Regions from separate parts of the Homo sapiens genome. Here regions 1, 2 and 3 are each linked to region 4. The links are contacts of gene promoters, found by promoter capture Hi-C in human tissues and cell types (Jung and others, 2019). All regions are on one chromosome and are shown on one strand. The core of a region is centred on a gene start or on the middle of the fragment in contact, and the rest is flanking DNA. Distances in the headings are between cores, read along the strand shown.

Evidence for each region. Contacts are between HindIII fragments. The study calls those that stand out against the background at their distance.
Region 1: a fragment that was not itself captured here is called in contact with the fragment with the promoter of RSPO2 in region 4 in 4 of the 25 tissues and cell types used here (bladder, neural progenitor cells, psoas muscle and 1 more).
Region 2: a fragment that was not itself captured here is called in contact with the fragment with the promoter of RSPO2 in region 4 in 1 of the 25 tissues and cell types used here (pancreas).
Region 3: a fragment that was not itself captured here is called in contact with the fragment with the promoter of RSPO2 in region 4 in 3 of the 25 tissues and cell types used here (H1 embryonic stem cells, heart left ventricle and spleen).

The regions. Positions count from the first base shown.
Region 1 is chr8:108,035,424-108,038,402 of GRCh38, reverse strand. All of the region lies in intron 2 of RSPO2 (R-spondin 2), which reads left to right. Among named protein-coding and RNA genes, the nearest start is that of RSPO2, 47 kb to the left of the region's middle. The HindIII fragment of the contact is 7,457 bases long and covers 1-2,979 here.
Region 2 is chr8:108,120,907-108,123,944 of GRCh38, reverse strand. No RefSeq gene overlaps it. Among named protein-coding and RNA genes, the nearest start is that of RSPO2, 39 kb to the right of the region's middle. The HindIII fragment of the contact is 3,236 bases long and covers 154-3,038 here.
Region 3 is chr8:108,136,777-108,139,530 of GRCh38, reverse strand. No RefSeq gene overlaps it. Among named protein-coding and RNA genes, the nearest start is that of RSPO2, 55 kb to the right of the region's middle. The HindIII fragment of the contact is 3,964 bases long and covers 1-2,754 here.
Region 4 is chr8:108,082,091-108,085,077 of GRCh38, reverse strand. RSPO2 (R-spondin 2) reads left to right here and starts at 1,458. Exons shown (of 6, transcript NM_178565.5): 1 at 1,458-1,881; 2 at 2,271-2,533. The coding sequence starts at 2,440. RefSeq lists a silencer at 2,427-2,602 and an enhancer at 2,319-2,987. The HindIII fragment of the contact is 6,606 bases long and covers 1-2,987 here.

The DNA.
Region 1 (2,979 bases), core at 281-2,780, 47 kb after region 4:
CACCAGGAGTAGATTCCATCTCAAGAAACACTTTCTTTGCTTATCCATAAGAAGCAACTCCTCATCCATTCAAGTTTTATCATGAAATTGTAGCAATTCAGTCACATCTTCAGGCTTCACTTCTCCATCTAGTTCTCTTGCCATTTCTACCATGTCTGCAATTACTCACTCCACTGAAGTTTTGAACCCCTGAAGTTATACATGAGGGCTGGAATCTACTTAACTCCTGATAATGTTGATATTTTGACCTTCTCCCATGAATCACTAATGTTTTTAATGGCGTCTAGAAGGGTGAACCCTTTCCTGGAGGTTTTCAATTTACTTTTCCCAGATTCATTAGAGGAATCACTATATATGGCAGCTGTAGCCTTATGAAATATTTATTAAATAATAAGACTTGAAAGTTGAAATTACTCCTTGATCCACTGGCTACATAATGGATCTTGTGTTAGCAGGCATGAAAACATTAATCTCCTTGTACATCTCCATCAGAGCTCTTGGTTGACCCAGGTGCATTGTCAATGAGTAGTAGGTCTCAACAGCGGGCTTAAAACCTTCAGTAAACCATGCTGTAAACAGGTGTGCTGTCATGGAGGTTTTGTTATTCCACTTATAGAGCACAGGCAGAGTAGAGCTAGTATAATTTTTAAGGGCCATAAGATTTTCAAGGTGTAAATGAGCATTGGCCTCCACTTCAAATCACTGGCTGCATTAGCCCCTAACAAGAGAGTCAGCCTGTTCTTTGAAGTTAGACATTCACATCTCTCTAGCTATGAAAATCCTGGGTGGCATCTTCTCCCAGTAGCAGGCTTTTTAATCTACATTTAAAAATCTGTTTTTTAGTGTAGCCACCTTCATTTCTTCATTAAATCTTCTAGACAACTTGCTGTAGCTTCTACATCAATACTTACTGTTTCACTTTGCACTTTCATGTTATGGAGATGACTTCTTTCCTTAAACCTCATGAACCAACCTCTGCTAGCTTCAAATTTAACTTCTGCAGCTTCCTCATCTCTCTCAGTCTTTGTAGAGTTAAAGAGAGTTAGGATCTTGCTCTGGATTAGGCTTTGGCTTAAAGGAATGTTCTGGCTGGTTTATTCTTCTATCCAGACTTCTAAAACTTTCTCCACATCGGTAATATGGCTGTTTCACCTATCTGTGTTTTCACTAGAATAGCACTTTTAATGTTCTTCAAGAACTTTTCCTTTGCATTCACAACTTGAGGGGCCTAGCTTTTGACCTATCTTGGCTTTTAACATGCCCTGCTCACTAAGCTTAATCACGTCTAGTTTTTTATTTAAAGTGAGAGATATAGGACTCCTCCTCTTGAATACTTAGAGGCCACTGTAGGGTTACTAATTGTCTTAATTTCAATATTGTTGTACCACAGGGCATAGGGAGGCCTGAGGAGAGAGTGAGAGAGATGGCAACAGTTAGTGGAGCAGTCAGAACACACAACATTGATTGGTCAAGTTTGCCATCTTATGTGGGTGCAGTTTTTGGTGCCCCAAAACAATTACAAAAGTAACATCAAAGATCACTGAACACAGATCACCATAACAGATTAATAATAATGAAAAATTTTAAATATTGCAAGCATTACCAAAATGTGACAGAAGAAGGGAGCTCATGCTGTTGGAAGAATGGTGCCAATAGACTTGACGTAAGGTTGCCAGAAACCTTCAATATATAAAACAACAACCTTCCTCCCACCTCACCCCCAGCAAGAATTCTGCAATATCTGTGAAGCACAATAAAGTGAAATGCAAGAAAATGAGATATTTTTGTAACACGTGGTCTTTGTTTTGGGAATGTTCAAACTTGTGGGACAAATGGGTAAAGGTATAGCTACAGCCTAACATTGAAAAGCGCCATGGCCACAGGCATCACACAGGTCTTTATGATGTGCCACAGGCTTCCTTGCCTGAATGACAGTTCAGGTCTTGACAGAAATGGTTGTCATAGGTGCAGAAACTTGAAAGATGGTCAGTTTTGCAGAGGGGGCAGAGAGGATCTTTTGCTATATATGTTAGCATATTTTCAGTAAACCATGCTGTAAACAGATGTGCTGTTATCCAGGCTTTGCTGCTCCATTTATAGCACACAGGCGGAATAGATTTAGCATAATTCTTAAGGGATCTAGGATTTTTGGAATGGTAAATAAGCATTGGTTTCATTTAAAGTCACCAGCTGCATTCCTAATGAGGGTCAGCCTGAAGTGGGGTGTTTTTTAGGTTTTGGGTTTTATTTGCTTAATATCTCTAAGGATAGCAAATCACCTGTATTAGTTTACCTGGCATGAAGGAAATGCCCATTGCTAATTCTACCAAATTTTCAAAAAAATACTTTGGATTTTAGAACAAACTGAAAAGTTGCTGTCTAATACTTGGAGGACAGTATGCCTAGATTCATAAGATGCCTCTGGGTCTCTATCTTTGTAATATATTTACCAAAATCATGAAAAATGTTTTTATTAGCCAGCATATAGATAGACTTGGTGGTTCCCAAACCTGAAAATGGTGAAAGTAACCCAGGGAGCATTTGGTGACTCAAGAGCCCAGTTCCCAATCCAGCGAAACTGAAACAGTCTCTTCTGGGGCAATCTCAGATTCTATGTCTAGGAATCAAAAATTTAAGAACTGGTGAGGAATTGCCTGTAATCCCAGCACTTTGGGAGGCCGAGGCAGGCAGATCATGAGGTCAGGAGATCGAAACCATCCTGGCTAACACGGTGAAACCCCATCTCTACTAAAAATACAAAAAAATTAGCCGGGCATGGTGGCGGGTGCCTGTAGTCCCAGCTACTCGGGAGGCTGAGGCAGGAGAATGGTGTGAACCCAGGAGGTGGAGCTTGCAGTGAGCCAAGATCGCGCCACTGCACTCCAGCCTGCGCAACAGAGCGAGACTCCGTCTCAAAACAAAAACAAAAACAAAAACAAACAAACAAAACAAAAAAACAAAACAAAAAAAAGAACTGGT
Region 2 (3,038 bases), core at 522-3,021, 39 kb before region 4:
ACTATTATTGTGTGGGAGTCTAAGTCTCTCTGTAGGTCTCTAAGAACTTCTTTATGAATCTGGGTGCTCCTGTATTGGGTGCATATATATTTAGGATAGTTAGGTCTTCTTGTTGCATTGATCTGTTTACCATTATGTGATGCCCTTCTTAGTCTTTTTTGATCTTTGTTGGTTTAAAGTCTGTTTTATCAGAGACTAGGATTTTAATCCCTGCTTTTTTTGCTTTCCATTTACTTCATAAATATTCTTTTATCCCTTTACTTTGAGCCTATGCGTGTCTTTGCACATGAGATGGGTCTCTTGTATGTAGCACCTGGATGGGTCCTGACTTTTTATCCAATTTGCCAGTCTGTGTCTTTTAATTGGGGAATTTAGCCCATTTACATTTAAGGTTAATATTGGTATGTGTGAATTTGATCCTGTCATTATGATGCTAGCTGGTTATTTTGCCCATTAGTTGATGCTGGCAAGGTGGCCTAATAGGAAAACTCTGGTCTTTAGCTCCCAGTGAGATCAACGCAGAAGGTGGGTGATTTTGCATTTCCACTGAGGTACCAGGCTTATCTCATTGGGACTGGTTAAACAGTGGGTGCAGCTCATGGAGGGAGAGCTGAAGCAGGGTGGGGCGTTGTTTCTCCTGGGAAGTGCAAGGGTTCAGGGAACTCCCTCCCCTAGCCAAGGGAAGCTGTGAAGGACTGTGCCATGAGGAACTGTGCATTCCACCCCAGTTCCTACACTTTTCCCAAGGTCTTCTCAACCCGCAGACCAGGAGATTCCCTTGGGTGCCTGTACCACCAGGGCCCTGGGTTTCAAGCACAAAACTGGGCGGCCATTTGGGCAGACACCGAGCTAGCTGCAGGAGTTTTTCTTCATACCCCAGTGGCTCCTGGAACACCAGCAAGATAGAACCATTCACTCCCCTACAAGGGGGGCTGAAGCCAGGGAGCCAAGTGGTGTAGCCCAGCGGATCCCACTGCCACAGAGCCCAGCAAGCTAAGATTGATTGGGTTGAAATTCTCACTGCCAGCACAGCAGTCTGAAGTTGACCTGGGACACTCGAGCTTGGTGGGGAGAGGGGAGTCCACCATCATTGAGGGTTTAGTAGGCGGTTTTCCCCTCATAGTGTAAACAAAGCTGCCTGGAAGTTCGAACTGAGTCAAGCCCACTGCAGCTCTGCAAAGCCACAGTAGCCAGACTGCCTCTCTAGATTCCTCCTCTCGGGGCAGGGCATCTCTGAAAGAAAGGCAGCTGCCCCAGTCAGGAGTTTATAGATAAAACTCCCATCTCCCTGGGACAGAGCACCTGGGGGAAGGGGCAGCTGTGGTTGCAGCTTCAGCAGACTTAAATATTCCTGCCTGCTGGCTCTGAGGACAGCAGTGGATCTCCCAGCACAGTTCTCGAGCTCTGCTAAGGGACAGACTGCCTCCTCAATTGGTCTCTGACCCCTGTGCCTCCTGACTAGGAGACACTCCCAGCTGGGGTCGACAGACACTTCATACAGGAGAGCTCTGGCTGGGATATGGCAGGTGCCCCTCTGGAATGAAGCTTCCAGAGGAAGGAACAGGCAGCAATCTTTGCTGTTCTGCAGCCACTGCGGGTGAGGCAAACAGCGTCTGGAGTGGACCTCCAGCAAATTCCACCAGACCTGCAGCAGAGGGGCCTGACTGTTAGAAGGAAAACTAACAAACAGAAAGGAATAGCATCAACATCAACAAAAAGGATGTCCACACAGAAACCGCATTCGAAGGTCACCAACATCAAAGACCAAAGGTAGATAAATCCATGAAGGTGTGGAAAACCAGCACAAAAAGGTTGAAAATTCCAAAAACCAGAATGCCTCTTCTCCTCCAAAGGATCACAACTCCTCGCCAGCAAGGGAACAAAACTGGATGGAGAATGAGTTTGACGAATTGACATAAGTAGGCGTCAGAAGGTGGGTAATAACAAACCCTTCTGAGCTAAAGGAGCATATTCTTACCCAATGCAAGGAAACTAAGAACCTGGAAAAAAGGATAGAGGAATTGCTAACTAGAATATCCAGTTTAGAGAAGAACATAAATGACGTGATGGAGCTGAAAAACACAGCATGAGAACTTTGTGATGCATATACAAGTATCAATAGCTGAACTGATCAAGTGGAAGAAAGGATATCAGAGGTTGAAGATCAACTTAATGAAATAAAGCATGAAGACACGATTAGAGAAAAAATCATGAAAAGGAAAGAACAAAGCCTCCAAGAAATATAGGACTATGTGAAAAGACCAAACCTAGTTTGAGTGGTGTACCTGAAAGTGATGGGGACAAACGAACCAAGTTGGAAAACACTCTTTAGGATGTTATACAGGAGAACTCCAACCTAGCAAAACAGGCCAACATTCAAATTCAGGAAATACAGAGAACACCACAAAGATATTCCTCAAGAAAAGCAACCTCAAGACACATATTCATCAGATTCACCAAGGTTGAAATGAAGGAAAAAATGTTAAGGGCAACCAGAGAGAAAGGTCAGGTTACCCACAAAGGGAAGCCCATCAGACTAACAGCAGGTCTCTCTGTGGAAATCCTACAAGCCAGAAGAGAGTGGGGGCCAATATTCAACATTCTTAAAGAAAAGAATATTCAACCCAGAATTTCATATCTAGCCAAACTAAGCTTCATAAATGAAGGAGAAATAAAATCCTTTACAGACAAGCAAATGCTGAGAGACTTTTACCACCACCAGGCCTGCCTTACAAGAGCTCCTGAAGGAAGCACTAAATATGGGATTGAAAACCAGTACCAGCCACTGCAAAAGCATACCAAATTGTAAAGACTATTGACACTATGAAGAAACTGCCTGGTCTACATTTCTTTCTTCTACCCATTTAAAATATTTAATATTAACTCTTCAGTAAGTTTTTCTAAAGCCACAAAAAAAATTCATCTTCATCAAGCAGTTTCTTTTCTGCCTTCTTCTCAGCAAAATTATCTGAGCCAAGGAAATAGTAAGGCCCTGGCTATCTGCTTGAAATGGGGAAGGGAAAATATAAGAAATAAAA
Region 3 (2,754 bases), core at 1-2,500, 55 kb before region 4:
TATATTTCTTCTTATTCCTGGGTACAGTGAAATGCAGAGCAAGTGAAAGAGCAGAGAAATGGGAGAGGTGAGAAGGGGATGATGGGGTAGGTTCTCAACTCACTTCTTGCTTTCATGCCTGGAACATTTCTCTAAGCCAGAACTTTCTGAACAAAGTGGATTTCAGGTGTGCCAAAATACTGATCTTTCAGCTCACAGGTCAGGGTCAAAAAGAGCCTCGAGGTGCCTTTTCTATGTAGCCCAAGTCACCTTCAAATGTAATGCTTTTCTATGTATACCAAGATGTACAATTTTTGGAGGCAATAAAAAATACTGTCTTAGAATCCAGGAGTCCCAAATTTTGGGGTAAAAACTTCTAGTTTTCTAGGATGTATGTGCATATGTGTATCTACATATATATGTGTGTATGTAGTTGTGTGTATAGAGAGAGTTAATCTAGCCTAGCAGTTAATAGTATTTACTTTGGATTCCTGCAGATTTTGTTTGAGACTCAGTTTTACCACTTTCTCACTATGTGACCTTGAGCAGTTGACTTAGCCCCTCTGAACCTTAGTTTCCTGGGGGATAAATAGCCACTTTTCATATTCATGACCTTGGGCAAGTCACTTAACTCTTTGTTCTTCAGTTTCTATTCTGTAAAATAGGATAATAGTACCAACTTCATAGTTTTGCAGTAAGGATTAATATGTTAATTCATATATTGACATATAAGTTAACCTGTCTGTCTGTTGATCACTTAGAACATTGCTGGTTCATGGTAAACTATAAAAGTGTGAATTATCATCACCATCCTGTAAAGTGTTGTGCACAGGGTCATATACATGATAGCTATCATCACAGGCATCATTATTATTTTTATAGTTAGCTGTGGGGAAGAGAAGTGTTTTTGTCACCACCACGGAAAACCAAAATGTGTGGAGCTCTGACAATGTGGTAGTAACTGCTGAGAACACAGGAGATAAGACTCTCATCTGCATGAGTCTAAAACACACAATCTAGACCACCCAGCAGCACAGGGGATGAGCTCCCTGTGGACTTCTTATTTGATCAGGAGTTTCTCCTCTTCACCCCTTTCTTCTCAGCCTCCCTTCATCATATTCCTGTTTTTGTTAATGCACTTATCCACCACTTCTGCCAAAAAGAAAAATGGGAATATTTGTGTTCTTTGGAGATTCTGCCAAGGAAGCCGTGGCCCTGGGGCTTCCTGGTGTCCCTGTAGCTTCTCTCCACGCTGGCAGCTGAAGGAAGCCATACTCACGGGGAGGCGTGTGAAGAGTCATCAAATGCTAAGCCTGGATGAAGCGTTATTAGAAACAGAGGAATTACTAACGAGTTGAGTTTTCTGACAGGAAAATAAAGCAATCAAGATCGGTCTAGGTGGGTACCCTGTGGATCCAGGGGCCCTGGGGTAGATATATGGTGGTGGAGGGTGTGGCAAGATGCCCGTCTATGGGCTTCTCTTTGCTATTCATCAACCCATAGAAAAGATCCATTTGCCCCATTTCTAGGAATAGAGCGAAGCCACTCCCAAGAGAGGAATAAAGTAGGAATCACCTCCCCACTTTCCCTTCCTTTCCCCTTATGCAATAGCGTGACTGGCAAATAGCTTGGAAGGAGGACACAAGTCAAAGCTTGAACCCTCCATCCAGAGGCCATTCCAAAGCTCCCATTACAGCAGCCTTGCACAGGAGGCAGGGATGGCTAAGTTGGAGTCAGATAGACCTTAGTTGAAATTCCAGCTCTTCTTTTTTTTGCAACTAAATGACCATGCTCAATCTATTAACCTTCCTGCTTCTTGAGGCCCTCATCTGAGAGATGGAGTTAAAAGGATTGAATACATGGTATTGTGCCTGAGTTAATAGATGGGGAAAACTTGCCACAGCGGGGCATGGCAGGTGCTTGGTCAATGGTAGCTATTTTTATTCTACTCTTGTTATTATAAACGTTAAAGTCACATGCATACTACTATTCAGTGGGTCCCACTGCCACTGCTAATACTAAATCATTCCTTTTTCGCTCATATCTGTTGGCAGCAACCTGCTGACCTTTCTTGACTCCACTCACTCTTGAATGCTGCAAACAATTTCACTTCTAACCTAGATTTTACTTGTAACCAAGTGCTCACTTTTTTACATATACGTTCCCTGAACTCTGTGCTCTCTTTGAGCCACCCTCCCTAATCAGGAGTAAAGGTGGCAGAGAAATCACAGTCTCAGATCCTTGTCACCCAGACACCCCAGATCCTGCCAAAGTCTTGTTCTGTCACATCCAATCTGACTGAGGAATCTTATAAACTGCAGATACATTCATTGGCCACTTGCTTGGGGCAGGAAAGGAGAACTGATCCCTCCACATTGAATGATCTCTGGGAGGGAAGGTGAAATGGAGGCTAGGTTACACAACAGGAAAAATGCAAGAAATCTTGCCATCGATGCTCCTATTGGCAGTTTATTTTGGTTTCTGGTTTTGAAACTGCTGTGTGAAGTCAGCTACTGGAAGTTTTTGTTGCTGTTTTCTGATGCAGGAGGATTATAAATCCAACCAAGTTTCCCTCAAACTTCTTCTCTGGGATTATTTCAAAGAAAAAAAAAGAGAGAGAGAAAATGTTGCTTGTACCTTCTCCCTCTGAAGCTATGGTAGCTTCCCCAACGATCATTCTGGAGAGAGTTCTGACTCAAGATTCCATAAGAAAACCCAAATGAAGATATAAAAATAATCTTCTGTGGGCCAACAGAAGGAATGACATAGATGCTA
Region 4 (2,987 bases), core at 209-2,708:
TTAACTCCTTTATAAGTATAATTCATTTGTTGTGTGCATATATGACTATATTTGGAAAGAAGTAGTATTTATGGTGCTGAAGAGATATTCAGCATCATATCAAGATGATCAAGAAATATCAAGTTATGCCAAACACTGGGGCCACTCCCTACACTGAAATGTTTCCAAATTCTGTGATAAAAATCAAAGGCTCAAAAGTCAAGAAACAGATCCACTGTTTCTGCAATGTGTTTTGTGAACTCTATTTGTGCCCTGTGGGCCAGTCTCAGTGATGGATTTTCTTATCTATGAAATGGGACCAATGACCTCAACTCAGATTTACTTGGGTGTTCTCAGGCATGCATCAAAGGCATACTGCTGAAATTCTTAGCACATAAATACCACTATGTAATAGTGAGTCTGTAAAATAGTTATGAATAGGCAATAATGGAATAGTTAATAAATATGAGTATTGCAATATTCTTTTTATATGATTGTCTTTTAAGTCATCAAATTTCTGAACATCTTCTGAAACTGAAGGAATAGAAAAGGGAATTTAAATAGTATAAAATGCTATCATAATAATATGGTAACTGCGGGCATATCTATAGACATTCATACTGCCACGGTTAGTGGCATAAATTCTTATCTTTTGCTTAAGGAATAAATACATTTTTTCCTACAGTAGTGAATGCAGGACAGATTTCACCAGAATGAAATTGGATGGCATCAAGTCTATTTAATGTAACACTTTGTTAAACAGAATATTTTCCCCAAACCCAAAGCACCTAAAAGTTTAATTCAGGAGACTTTGGAAATGAGAGGAGGATTAAGAATGAAAAATACTTTAGTGGGAAGTGAACTTTTTAAAATTATTTTTAAAGAATCAAGGCCCCAACTTCTTCAGCACTTCAGGCAACGGATCACAGGTTTTTGTTTTATTGGAGAAGAAACAAAGTAAATAACAGTTCTGAGGATGAACAAAAGCTGTTGGGAATACCCATTTCACTCCTCAAAGTGGGGGCGCGTTTTATGAATAATTTCAGCCGGCTAACATACCTTCCTGCAAAACACAGACAAGATGTAAATTAAAAAGTGGCAGAGTTGTGGCATATTGCAAAAGTTTAAAGGGAGTCATCAGTCCTTCAGTCAGATCTCCCTGCAGAAAGGTTGGCGCTGAGGTTGGAACTGACCCTAGAGGGCTGGAGAGGACCCCTTGGGGGTGAGCAGCCGGGTTCTGGGACCCAGCAAGGTCAGGGGGCGTCTCCCCAGCTACTCTTTATCTATCCCCCGCACTCTGGAAAGCCCGAAGAGGATTCGCTCCAAGTTAGGCGCGCTGTTGGCTGTCAACGTTCTTTAGGACCTCAGGGAAACCGGGACGTTTCTGGCTTTAGGACCCAGGAACTCCGAGGCAGCCTAGACTTAGATGCCTTGGACCACAGCACCACCTACTTATAGAAGCATCCCAAGCCTCAGCCGGTCTGCATCTCCATCGGAAAGTGCGCTTGCCACATCCCTTCGGATCACTTCGTCCTCCCGAGAGCGTTCTGCCTTCTACAGCTCGGAAAGAAAGAAATCTTAGCTGTGAAGTGACCGTGGAGAAAGCGCAGGAAGCGACACAATTGGTTAGGGAGGCAGAGAGTGTGAGCGGGCGCACCCCTTGCCTGGGGACCGCGCTCGCGGGCGGGGACGGAGCATCCCAGTGGCTGCACCCGCCGCTCCGCGCTCCTGCCTGGCGTCGCCAACCCCGCGGCGGCCGCTGGAATTCCAGAGCTGCCAGGCGCTCCCAGCCGGTCTCGGCAAACTTTTCCCCAGCCCACGTGCTAACCAAGCGGCTCGCTTCCCGAGCCCGGGATGGAGCACCGCGCCTAGGGAGGCCGCGCCGCCCGAGACGTGCGCACGGTAGGCAACCCACACCAAGGCAGCCGCAGCTGCGGCGCTTGGGTACACCGCCGTGGACTCCAAATGGCCTAAGAGCGTTCTTTTAGCCCTGCGCTCTCAGTGCCTTTAGAGTTCTTTCCTTTCCCCGGAGCGCCGGCACAACGCATTATGCCGCTGGGTCGGAGCTTAGGGCTCGGCAGAGGTTGCTAATTCACTGATTATAATCACCTTCCTCTCCAACTCGTCCGCAGCTGCCCGCTCTGGATTAAGCCGCTCCGCGGCTCGTGCTAGGCAGTGGGTTCGCTTCCTCCTTCCCTCTCTTCTTTAAATTGGGACGTGCGAAGGCGCAGCTGCCTCCCCGGGGCTCTCTCCATCCCCCACACACCCTGTTTTCGCTTCTTGTCTCTCAGGTTCGTGGCGGAGAGATGCTGATCGCGCTGAACTGACCGGTGCGGCCCGGGGGTGAGTGGCGAGTCTCCCTCTGAGTCCTCCCCAGCAGCGCGGCCGGCGCCGGCTCTTTGGGCGAACCCTCCAGTTCCTAGACTTTGAGAGGCGTCTCTCCCCCGCCCGACCGCCCAGATGCAGTTTCGCCTTTTCTCCTTTGCCCTCATCATTCTGAACTGCATGGATTACAGCCACTGCCAAGGCAACCGATGGAGACGCAGTAAGCGAGGTGGGTCCCTCTCTGCCAAAGGTGCGTGGTGGGCTTCAGGGGTGGCGTGTGGAGGCGCTCACTCACGCCCTGGCTCCGGGGGCTCAGATGGTCAGGGCTGTGCTCTCCACCCCAGCTTTTGCGGGTCCCCAGTCCCCACCTTTAGGACCCTGGAGCTCTACAAAACACTCTGTTTTCTGTACCCTGGAGGCGCGGGGAGCCGGAGCGAGACGCGCTGGGAGCTCGGCGAGCCGGGCGCCAATCGGGCGCTCAGGGCTAAGTCGTGCGGTCCGCACTCATGTTCGCCGCCCCACCTCCTCATCTAAACTTGTCTCTTTAGGACGTATTTCTTATCTGACATGCATTTTTTTTTTGTCGTCGTTGTTCTTCTCTCTGTCCTCCTAACCATCTTCCCTGTAGCTCATTTGTTTTATCTTCCCCATCCACGTGCGCCCCAAACCCGGCCTCAGATCTC